Linked DNA regions of Homo sapiens: all the other regions are linked to region 4. The links are contacts of gene promoters, found by promoter capture Hi-C in human tissues and cell types (Jung and others, 2019). All regions are on one chromosome and are shown on one strand. The core of a region is centred on a gene start or on the middle of the fragment in contact, and the rest is flanking DNA. Distances in the headings are between cores, read along the strand shown. Region 1 holds the start of IFI30 (IFI30 lysosomal thiol reductase). Region 2 holds the start of PIK3R2 (phosphoinositide-3-kinase regulatory subunit 2). Region 3 holds the start of B3GNT3 (UDP-GlcNAc:betaGal beta-1,3-N-acetylglucosaminyltransferase 3). Region 4 has its middle 12 kb from the start of KCNN1.

Region 1 (2,700 bases), core at 155-2,654, 220 kb after region 4:
TTTCTTCAATCCCACCCGGCATAGGGTAAGCACCAAAGTTGGGGTGGTGAGTCTTGGGGAGCCTTTGCCAACGGTTTGGTCGTCTGAGGGATGGGCTCGGGGACCATCCAGCCACTGGGACTTCAGAGAAGCTCCGGCTCCCAAACCAGCTACTGTGTGTGTGGCCAGGGTCTTCCCCACAACTAGAGGGGGGCACAGCTGGGGACTCAGGTATATCTTCCAGCTGGGTGTGGGACATTTTCTTCCCTAGGATCCGATGTGTCTTGCCCTGAATGTAAGGCCTGGCAGGGTTGGAATGTCTCAGTTATTCCCCCAACACTCCAGCCTCCATCTGGGCCTTTTTTCCAGGCTATTCTCTCTGCCTTCACTGTTGGGGCCACTGTCCTGTGTAGGCACCAAGGCCTGACCATGCCATCCAGAAGCCCCAGCCTGGGACAACTCTCCCCCACCTGCCTCTGAGCCCTCCATGGTGACTCTTGTTCCCCAAACCTTATCCTTCTCCCCATTACACAGAAGGGAAAGCTGAGGCTCTGTCACTCAAATCCAAAGCCAGGTGGACTCCAAGCCACCCCACCCCTATCCCAGACAGCACAGGCTGCCTCTCTCCCCCATGGGCGTCCCTTGAAGGCCAGGTTGCCCCCCACCCCCCACAAGCCTTGAACGATGAAAAGAAGGAAGGCCAGTTCTCTTCACCCCAAGCCAGAAGTGGGGCTGGGTGGGTACCCTAGAGAAATGACACGCCACTCCCTGCGCCAGCTTCTGCTTTCCGGCGTGGCTGTGGTCAAGCCTGAGTCAGTCCCACGGGACCACGGTGAGGGGTCTGGAGCGTCGGGGTCAGGAGTTTGAGGGGGGAAGGGTTGAGGGGCAGGATGTGGGGGTTGGGTGTGAGGGAGGTCACGGGCGAGACTGGAGGGAGGAGACCTGGCCACACAGGCCTTGCCCACTCTCGGGGGCCTGAATATTTCAGTTACTCCCCCAAAACCCCGGCCTCCATCCCATCCCCAGCCTCCATCCGACGTCACCCCTGTTAGGTCACAGGCCCACTCTGAGAGTGGGTCTCGGGCCTCAAGTCCCCTAGCCGCCCCTAGAAGGTCTAGGGGTGCGTGGAGACACCACCATTCCTCTCAGCCTGTGTCTGTCTCAAAGGCCCCACCTCACCTCCCCTAAAGGTAGTCTTGCGCCAGGGCTCACGTGCCTGGGCAGGGCTGATTGCCAAGGGGCCCAATGGCCTCGTGACTGGGGACCCAGCACCTGGCAGGGGTGGGGGTGGGACACTCAGAGGAAGGAGTGGAGGAGGGAGAGACGCTGGCCCGGGACCCGAGGGGCGTGGGCATCGGGAGGCGGGCCCGGGTTAGGGGCGGGACCGCCGCCTGGTTAAAGGCGCTTATTTCCCAGGCAGCCGCTGCAGTCGCCACACCTTTGCCCCTGCTGCGATGACCCTGTCGCCACTTCTGCTGTTCCTGCCACCGCTGCTGCTGCTGCTGGACGTCCCCACGGCGGCGGTGCAGGCGTCCCCTCTGCAAGCGTTAGACTTCTTTGGGAATGGGCCACCAGTTAACTACAAGGTAGGGACGGCGACAGGGCGGGCAGGCTGGAGGGAACAGGCGCCCTGTCGGGGCACGCGGCTCCTTCTTTCTCCCCAGACTTCACAGGGGAAGACCAGGGCCCCGAGGGGACGCTGTCCCTGCCGGGTTCCTGGAAAAACCCTGTTCAGTTCCCGGCGCTGCGGCCACACTCCCTCCGTGCCGTTTCGCTTTCGCATCCCGCATCTGAGAGGCGCAGCTGCCTCCACCCGCCTAGTCCCGCCCAAGGGTTCAATGAGCGCCTACTGTGTACTTTTGGGGCAGGAGCTGGGGTCTCCTTTTGTGGCCCAGGGCACAAGTTCAGCAGCTGGCCAAGGGCCGCCGGCATGCATTCTTGCTGCTACCCTTGATGCATTCATTCCAGCCAGGGCAGGGCTCGCGTGTCTTTGGGACCTATTAGGCAGATGCCCTAGAGGCTGAGCGACTTGCTCACCGCTCCAGCGACATGGGCCACCCGCCACCCCTCAGCTGAAGCCGGAAGTCAGCACCTATTAGGTGCCGCCTCTATTCAGTCGGACTTGGAAAGGGTTCACGTGGATCCCTTGCTCAGCTCAGAGGCAAGGTCTCCAGGTGAAGTGACAAGAAATGAGCATGGGCCAAGGCCGGAGGCGGTGGCTCATGCCTGTAATCCCAACACTTTGGAAGTCTGAGGCAGGCAGATCACGAGGTCAGGAGTTCGAGACCATTCTGGCCTACATGGAGAAACCCTGTCTCTACTAAAAATACAAAAATTAGCTGGGTGTGGTGGCATGTGCCTATAATCCCAGCTACTCAGGAGGCTGAGGCAGGACAATTGCTTGAACCAGGGAGTCGGGTGTTGCAGTGAGCCGAGATCGTGCCGCAGCACACCAGCCTAGCGACAGTGAGACTCCATCTCAAAAAAAAAAAAAAAAGTCTCAAAGTCAAGATTCCACCTGGCAAGTTCTGGAAGGCGTGCAAGATGAATTGCGTATCACAGCCCCCTTTCTACAAGACTACCAAGTGGGGTTGAGAGAAGTGGGGAACTGCCCAGGGCTACACCTGCCTCCCACGCCTTCCTAATCCACAGACAGGCAATCTATACCTGCGGGGGCCCCTGAAGAAGTCCAATGCACCGCTTGTCAATGTGACCCTCTAC
Region 2 (2,700 bases), core at 141-2,640, 200 kb after region 4:
GGCTCAAAGTCATTGCAAGTGGGTTTTGAGGACTGCATAGCAGTTCGCTGTTGAGATTCTTCCTGATGCCATCGCTGGTACCAGCCTCCTGCTACCCTCTCCCTGCGAGTACTCCATCATAGCCCTGCCTTTAAAAGCTTCCTCCAGACATCTGGGCCCTGAGCTATGTTTTTTATTTTTATGTTTTTGAGACAAGGTCTCGCTCTGTAACCCAGGTTGGAGTACAGTGGCGCAATCACGGCACATTGCAGCCTCGACCTCCTGGGCGCCCTGGGCTATGTTAATAAAATAAATAAGCGGCGGGGCGCGGTGGCTCACGCCTGTAATCCCAGCACTTTGGAAGGCCAAGGCGGGCGGATCTCCTGAGGTCGGGAGTTCCAAACCACCCTGACCAACATGGAGAAACCCCGTCTCTACTAAAAATACAAAATTAGCCGGGCGTGGTGGCGCATGCCTGTAATCCCAGCTGCTCGGGAGGCTGAGGCAGGAGAATCGCTTGAACTCGGGAGGTGGAGGTTGCGGCGAGCCGAGATAGCGCCATTGCACTCCAGCCTGGGCAACAAGAGCGAAACTCCGTCTCAAAAAATAATAACAAAATAAGCAATCGTCGCGTCCTTTCTATCCTGGTCTTAGCTTGCGCTCTGCCATAAAACTCCCTCTAGCCGAACCCGGCCCAGCCCTAGAGCAATCCGTTACTTCCGGGGCGCTCAGCCGGCATGCAAACACTCTTGGCTACAGCCCCATCTCCGAGTGCGTTCGGCTATTTCCGGAAACCGTCGGCATCTAGGCTCAAGTCCGCTAAATTCTAGTGCCCGTAGGGGTCGAGATCGTTGGCTGTTTCCGGACGCTCTGGGTTGCCATGGAAACTCCTTCAACCCTGGCTTTCTCCGACTTCTGCTTTTTGCGGCAGGCCCTTTCCCCACTCTACTGCCCCCTGTTTGCTGAGCTTGAGAACGCCTCATTTGTCCCCTGGAACCATCTATGCTTCAGTAATTCCCATAAGCTGGCGGTCGCCTCTGGGTCTAAACTCCCAAGGCCTCCATTGGGCACTGAGCACATTCGGTTATTTCCAGAAACGCTCCGCGGTCTTGGGGATCAGCCTCAGTTGTGCCAGTGCGGCCGTAGAGAGTGTTCGGCCATTTCCGAAAGCGCTCGGGCGTCTCTAAGCCCAGCCGAGCCCAGTCTCGGATCCCTCGCCGACCCGATTGCACTCGGCTACCTCTGGAAACGCTCGGCTGTCTCGGGGGCACCCTCTAGTCCACCAGTCCCGCGGGATTACGTTCGGCTACTTCCGGAAACACTCGGGTGCCCCCTTACCTCAGGCTCCGCCTCGGCCTCGGTTCATCCGCCCGGCTCGAATGCGCTCGGGCATTTCCGCCGGGGGCGGGCCAGGCCGCTCGGAACCGTGGCGGCGGCGGAGGCGGGGATCCCGCGGCTGCGGCGACGGTGGCCGCGGTGGAGCCACGGGGCGGGCTTGGCTTGGTGTGACGGCGGCTGCGGCGGCGGTGGCGGCCGCGACCAGGTGAGTCCTGACTGGCCCTCGTGGCGGGGGCGGCTGGGAGTGTGCTTAAATGCGGGGCGCCCGGGGGCAGTGCCGGGCCCCGGTGGAAGCCAGAACGCAAGCGCCAGGCTGCGTCGGGCCCCGCGGGAACTGGGGGGGCCGCAGGCAAGGGGGGGCCTCGGGCTCGGCTCCGCAGCGGTGCAGCCTCCTTGGGACGGTCGGGGCAGAATGGGGAGAGACTCCCCGCGTCCAAGATACCGGACTGGAGCCGAGGCCCCAAATGAAGGGAGGCCCTGCCTGGAATGGGGCTTCGAATAGTACCGAGGGGCGCCCAGGCATTGTGCGGGGCAGAATGGGGTGCGGGAGGGCCGGGGGTCGAACCCACTTCCGGTCCCCTAGCCGGGTGGCCGGGTCCACGCAGACCCAAGTGCGCGTCTGTGTGAGCGCTCAGGCCCTGCCTTCACCCGCGGAGCCCCCAGCCCTGCCTGCCCCGCCCCTCCCGCCTCCCGGATTCGGGGAGCGCTGCTCCCGGGGCGCGCACACCGGGGCGTGGGGGCGGGCTGGCAGGCAGATCCAGGCGGTTTTCTGGGCATCCCCTCTCGGGGCCTCAGTTTCCCCACCTGTAGAATGAGGGTAACAGAGGCCTAGGAATGGGTAAATTGGGCACCCGAGAATGTGGCGCCCCTCCGCCCTGCTCGGACACCTCTTGGGGTTCCCCGTGACTGAAGGATGCTCAGAGCCTCCACCTGACACTCGGGCCTCTTGGTGGATAGCACCTATCCTTATAGCCACCCTGAATCCTTGACAAGCAACTTAACCCACTGCCAAGGCTTTGCATGTGCCGTTCCGTCTGCCTGTCGCGCCTTCCTATCCGCTGTGATGATCCATTCTCTAGAACAGCACGTCCATCCCCCGACCCTAGCCCTGTCCATCACAGGGCGTCTGAACCCGCAGGGCTAGGCTGGGAATGTGTGCCTATCTCCGCCTCCCCAGGCTGGGACTCCTGGGGAATAATCAATGCCCTGCTGCCGGCAGCCTCCCCTCCTCCTCAGCTGCAGTACCCCCACCTTCTCCTGGCTCCCTGTCCCTGCCTGGGGCTAAGGTTCCTTCTAAGCACCTCCCCATCTGCATTTTGTGCCTACTCTGGGCCCCAGGCTGGAGCTACCTGCCAGCCCACTCACTCCTCCTCTGCAGAGACT
Region 3 (2,700 bases), core at 61-2,560, 160 kb before region 4:
TCTGAGGGTTCACTCCCCAGACCTCTCCCATCCAGAGTACCCAGGGGCTATTTCTTACATTTTACAGGTGAGGAAACTGAGGCACAGACAGGCCACATATACACCTCGGCTTCCTCCTCGGGAAGAAACAGGGATGAAGGAGGAAGGAGGGGTTTCCTGAAACCATAGCCCAGCTCACACACCTGGACTTCCCCAACCCCAGAGCTCCCAACGCTGGGTCCAGGCTAGAATCTCCTAGAGATTCAGAGGCAGCACAGGGCAGGGTTCGAATCCTAGCCAACCCAACCCTAAAAATCTACAAATCTGAGGCCAGGTGCAGTGGCTCACATCTATAATCCAGCACCTTGGGGATCTGAGGCAGGAAGGTCACTTGAGGCCCACAGTTAAGACCAGCCTGGGCAACATATCAAAACCCCATATCTAGAAAAATGACAAAAATTAGCCAGGCATGCTGGCGGGTGCCTGTAGTCCCAGCTACTCGGGAGGCTGAGGTGGGAGGATTGCTTGAACTGGGGAGGTCGACATTGTAGCGAGCGGAGATCACACCACTGTACTCTAGCCTGGGTGACAAAGCGAGATCCTGTCTCTCAAAACAAGAAAAAAAGAAAAAGAAAAGACTACAAATCTGTCTGATTGTTGACTTCCAGAACCCTTCCAAATGCCAGCAGGTGGCATCTGGATGTCTGGGGGCACATCGTAGGTTTTCGGGTCCTGGAATTATTTTCAATATAGAGATGGAATCTCACTATGTTGCCCAGGCTGGTCTCAAACTCCTGGGTTCCAGCGATCCGCCCCCCTCGGCCTCTGGAAGTACAGGAGTGAGCCACTGCGCCGACCCCAGCTTCAGGAATCTTTGAACTCCCCGCAGAGAGCAGAGGTGCCGCAAGGTTTAACCTGCCTCCCTCCCTCCTTATCGCCATGGGCTTATCCAATCATTTCTTCACGGAACACACGTGGGCCAACGCTGACCGGGCTCTGTGCCAGGAACCCGCAAGGCGCTGCTTGTTCATCTCCAGCCACGGGGAGCTCATTCCCTAGCAGCGGGCCAGACCCAAGGTGGGGTCGTGAGCCCCGAGAGGGGCGAGGGTGGCAAGAGCGGGATGGCAGAGGTGGCAGCCGGGACCGGAGAGGGGAAGAGGCATGGCCGGGGAGGGAGGAGCCGGCAGAGAACTTCGCCTGGGCCACCAGGAAACTCAGCCGAGCTGGGAAGAGGGGGACTGGCAAGCGGCCAAGGCGGAGGGAGGCAGGAAGGCGTGAGGCCCGGTGGGAGGGAGGAAGCGGGAGAGGGGCGGGAGCTCTGGCTCAGGTAAAAACTCTTTCTTCGGCTCGCGAGCTGAGAGGAGCAGGTAGAGGGGCAGAGGCGGGACTGTCGTCTGGGGGTGAGTGTCGGCAGCCCCCGGAGGATCTGGCGGACCCCAGTGGTGGGGGTTTGGGGGTGGGGAAGTTGTGGCTCTGGAGAAGCCCCTGCCGGTCTCCACCGCGCATACCCTGCAGATGTGGGAACATTCGGGAGCCCCGAGTCTCGAGAACCCGGTTGCCCTCACCCATCCGTAATTGTCTCCGGCGTTCCCAAGGCCAGCTCGGACCTGGGTCGGGGAGGAAGCCTCCCCCACAGCTGGCGACCCGGGACCCCGGCGCCCCTCCCAGATTGGGCGGGATCAGACCCCCGAGGCGGATGCCGCTTAGTCAGACTTGGCTGTTACTGTTACCTGTGTTGTTGAGATTATTGGCCCCTTGGTTGGGAGTATCTGGGCAAGCCAGCGCTGGGGTCCCCGGTTGGGTTTGGGAACTGCAGGTGACCCCCAGTCTCTCCCTGCGGTTCCGGTGCTGCAGGCCCTGCCAGGTGGCTGGGCGGCATTCCAGGGGCCCTGGCTGCGTGGCATGGACACATTGCTGAACCGGCCTCAGTTTCCCCTCCGTGAGGTGGAACAATGAACCAGCTGGGATGAGGATGCCCGAAGCGTTTAGTCAAAGGAAATTTTTGTGATGAGGTGTACTGCTGGCCACTGGGGGCCCTTGCGTGACTGGCGTTAGGTCTCTGAGCCTCAGTTTCCCTGTGTGTTAAGGGGGGGTCTCATGGCATGGGACCTTGGCGAGGATGAGTTGAGTGGATAGGAGCTGTGGCCACTCAGTGGGTGCCCAGGGACAGTCAGCTGTCATCATAATTATATTAATTATGTCTGTAGCCACTGTTCAGATTCACTCCTGTTCCAAGAATCCCGACCATCTTTTCCTCTGGGTCAGATTTAAACTTTTTGTTTGTTTGTTTTATTTGTAGAGGTGGGGGACTCACTTTGTCACCCAGGCTGGAGTACAGTGGCTCCATGCACTGTATTCACTGCAGCCTCAACCTCCTGGGCTCAAGTGATCCTCCCACCTCAGCCTCCCGAGTAGCTGGGACTACAGGTGCACACCACAGGCAGCTAATTTTAAAATTTTTTTGTGTGTGGAGACGGGGTCTCACTATGTTGTCCAGGCTGGTCTCAAACTCCTGGGCCCAAGCAATCCTCCTGCCTTGGCATCTGAAAGTGCTGGGATTTCAGGCATGAGCCACTATGCCCAGCTCTGATTTTTTTAAATGGACACTTCTCAAGAGGAAACTGAGGTCGCCCCTCAACTTGGGCGGGGGACTCCTGCAGTCCAGATCTGGGATTCAGGGCCCATGGGAAGCCACCTGGCCGTCTAGGTCTGGGGCCAGCC
Region 4 (2,700 bases), core at 189-2,688:
AGGGCAGCTTCAGAGCTGGGGAGCAAGAGTTCAGCTGCTCTGCCAAGCGAGGTGGTTCACAACTGTAATCCCAACACTTTGGAAGGGCGAGGCAAGCTCAGGAGTTCGAGACCAGCCTGGGCAACGTACTGAAACCCTGTCTCTACAAAAAATTAAAAAAATTAGCCAGGTGTAGTGGTGCACACTTGTAGTCCAAGCTACTTGGGGGCCGAAGGTGGGAGGATCGCTTGAGCCCGGGAAGTCAAGGCTGCAGTGAGCCATGTTCATGCGACTGCACTCCAGCCTGGGTGACAAAATGTCACCTCCCTGAATGTCACCCACCTAGATCTCCCCATGGCGAAGGAACTAGGGGCAATGTGAGGGGGTGAGCAGGAACAGCATTGGGAAAGACAGATAAAGCATTCAGTGTCTAGCTTCTGGAGCCCAGTGAAAGGAGGAGTGGCCTTAGGGAGGGGACATGGAAGAGGTGGGGCTAGCCCAGGGCCCCATTGGAGTGATAAAGCCACTGTTCTTAAGCTTCCTGAAAGCTTAGGAGATGACCCAGCTCAGCAACACCAAGCCAGAGCGCAGATCTGCTGTAAAGACCATTGTACGTAATAGGCTGAAGCAGGTGAATCACCTCTGGCCAGGAGTTCAAGTCCAGCCTGGCCAACACAGCAAAACCCCATCTCTACTAAAAATACAAAAAGTAGCCGGGCATGGTGGCAGGCACCTGTAATCCCAGATGCTTGGGAGGCTGAGGCAGGAGAATTGTTTGAACCCTGGAGGCGGCAGTTGCAGTGAGCTGAGATCACATCACTACACTCCAGCCTGGGTGACAGAGCAAGACTCTGTCTCAAAAAAATAAAAAATAAGAAAGACCACTGTAGTCCGGGAGCTGTCTGCACCCTACTCTTTTGGGTCCCCGCCTCCACCCCGCACCCCCTGTCTGATCATTACAGATCTCAAAGGGACAGGAAAGGCAGCAGCAGCCACCCTCTCTCCCAGTCAAGTGGTCACCAGCAGGACTGAAGGGGACAGCCCCTTTGCAGTGGCTCGGCGAGGAGACCCCTGCACCCTAGGGTGAGTGAATCCCAGACTTGGGTCGCCTTTGGGGGTGGGGGTGGCTCAGGGGTTGGATAGAAAAATTGGTAACTGGGCAGGCTAGGTGGCTCACGCCTGTAATCCCAGCACTTTGGGAGGCTGAGGCAGGTGGATCACTTGAGGTCAGGAGTTTGAGGCCAGTTTGGCCGACATGGCGAAACCCCGTGTCTACTAAAAATACAAAAATTGCCCGGGGATGGTGGTGGGCACCTGCAATCCTAGCTACTTGGGAGGCTGAGGCAGGAGGACCACTTGAATCCGGGAGGCAGAGGTTGCAGTGAGCCAAGATCGCGCCACTGCACTCCAGCCTGGGCGACAGAGCAAAGCTCTGTTTCAAAAAAAAAAAAAAAAAGGTGACCTGAGGAAAAAGTGCCAGCTTTTGAAATAATAACAAGCTGGGTACAGTGGCGTGCACCTGTGGTCCTAGCTACTCGGAAGGCTAAGGTGGGAGTATCGAGTCCAGGAGTTCGAGGCTGCAGTGAGCTATGATCACGCTTGTGAATGGCCACTGCACTCCAGCCTAGGCGACAGAGCGAGACCCCCATCTCTTTAATTAAAAAAAAAAAAAAGAAAAAAGGCCAGACGTGGTGGCTTACGCTTGTAATCCCAGCACTTTGGGAGGCCAAGGCAGGCAGATCACCTGAGGTCAGGAGTTCGAGACCAGCCTGGCCAACAGGGTGAAACCCCCATCTCTACTAAAAATACAAAATTAGCCAGGCATGGTGCTGCATGCCTGTAATCCCAGCTACTTGGGAGGCTAAGGCAGGAGAATCACTTGAACCCAGGAGGCGGAAGTTGCAGTGAGCCGAGATTGTGCCATTGCACTCCAGCCTGGGCAACAAGAGTGAAACTCCATCTCCAAAAAAAAAAAAAAAAAGAAAGAAAGAAAAAAAATAATAATATAATTATTATTATATCATATATATCATGATGATGATAGCAAGGACTATGCTTTCTAGAGCCTCCGGGGAGTTACTGTCCACTTTCTTTGATCACTGGAGTTGGGGAAACTATTCAGAGAGGCCAGATGACCTAGAAGTGGGGTGTTGAGCCAGGTTGGAAGAGCTCTGTCCCACCACTCCCGCCCCCGCCCCCCACACACAGCCTCTACTTCCCGGCTCTCGTGGTCTCGCTGGAGACAGCCCCCAGGGTAGGCCAGCTCTGTGGAAGGCAGCTCCTGTGCTCCTTTCTCCAGTGAACTTTTTTTTTTTAGTTTTGTTTTGTTTTGTTTTGTTTGTTTGTTTTGAGACAGAGTCTGACTCTGTCGCCCAGGCTGGAGCGCAGTGGCATGATCTTGGCTCACTGCAACCTCCACCCTCCACCCCACCGGGTTCAAGCGATTCTCCTGCTTCAGCCTCCCAAGTAGCTGGGATTACAGGCATGCGTCACCACGCACAGCTAATTTTTGTGTTTTCAGTAGAGATGGGGTTTCCCCATGTTGGCCGGGCTGGTCTCGAACTCCTGACCTCAGGTGATCCACCTGTCTTGGCCTCCCAAAGTGCTGGGATTGCAGGCGTGAGCCACTGAGCCAGGCCTCCTTGGTGAACACTGACTGACATCCAGGGTCAGCACTAAGCTGCCCATGGGGGTGTGGAGAAAACAGAGGTGGTGGTCATT

Evidence for each region. The method cuts DNA at HindIII sites, captures the fragments that hold promoters and counts their contacts. A contact is called where the count stands out against the background at its distance.
Region 1: a contact is called between the fragment with the promoter of IFI30 here and a fragment that was not itself captured in region 4, in 1 of the 25 tissues and cell types used here (dorsolateral prefrontal cortex).
Region 2: a contact is called between the fragment with the promoter of PIK3R2 here and a fragment that was not itself captured in region 4, in 4 of the 25 tissues and cell types used here (dorsolateral prefrontal cortex, lymphoblastoid cells, pancreas and 1 more).
Region 3: the fragment with the promoter of B3GNT3 here is called in contact with a fragment that was not itself captured in region 4 in 1 of the 25 tissues and cell types used here (IMR-90 fibroblasts).

What each region holds. Positions count from the first base shown.
Region 1 is chr19:18,172,409-18,175,108 of GRCh38, forward strand. IFI30 (IFI30 lysosomal thiol reductase) reads left to right here and starts at 1,405. Exons shown (of 7, transcript NM_006332.5): 1 at 1,405-1,565; 2 at 2,632-2,700. The coding sequence starts at 1,434. RefSeq lists a silencer at 1,150-1,459 and enhancers at 1,770-1,839, 1,967-2,632. The HindIII fragment of the contact is 16,563 bases long and covers 1-2,700 here.
Region 2 is chr19:18,151,773-18,154,472 of GRCh38, forward strand. PIK3R2 (phosphoinositide-3-kinase regulatory subunit 2) reads left to right here and starts at 1,391. Exons shown (of 16, transcript NM_005027.4): 1 at 1,391-1,522. RefSeq lists enhancers at 142-221, 764-1,656, 962-1,241 and silencers at 1,352-1,731, 2,042-2,261. The HindIII fragment of the contact is 11,749 bases long and covers 1-2,700 here.
Region 3 is chr19:17,793,828-17,796,527 of GRCh38, forward strand. It overlaps B3GNT3 (UDP-GlcNAc:betaGal beta-1,3-N-acetylglucosaminyltransferase 3), which reads left to right and starts at 1,311. Exons shown (of 3, transcript NM_014256.4): 1 at 1,311-1,379. RefSeq lists enhancers at 509-1,206, 1,207-1,904. The HindIII fragment of the contact is 34,117 bases long and covers 1-2,700 here.
Region 4 is chr19:17,953,620-17,956,319 of GRCh38, forward strand. It overlaps a transcript of KCNN1 not described here. Among named protein-coding and RNA genes, the nearest start is that of KCNN1, 12 kb to the right of the region's middle. The HindIII fragment of the contact is 4,437 bases long and covers 1-2,700 here.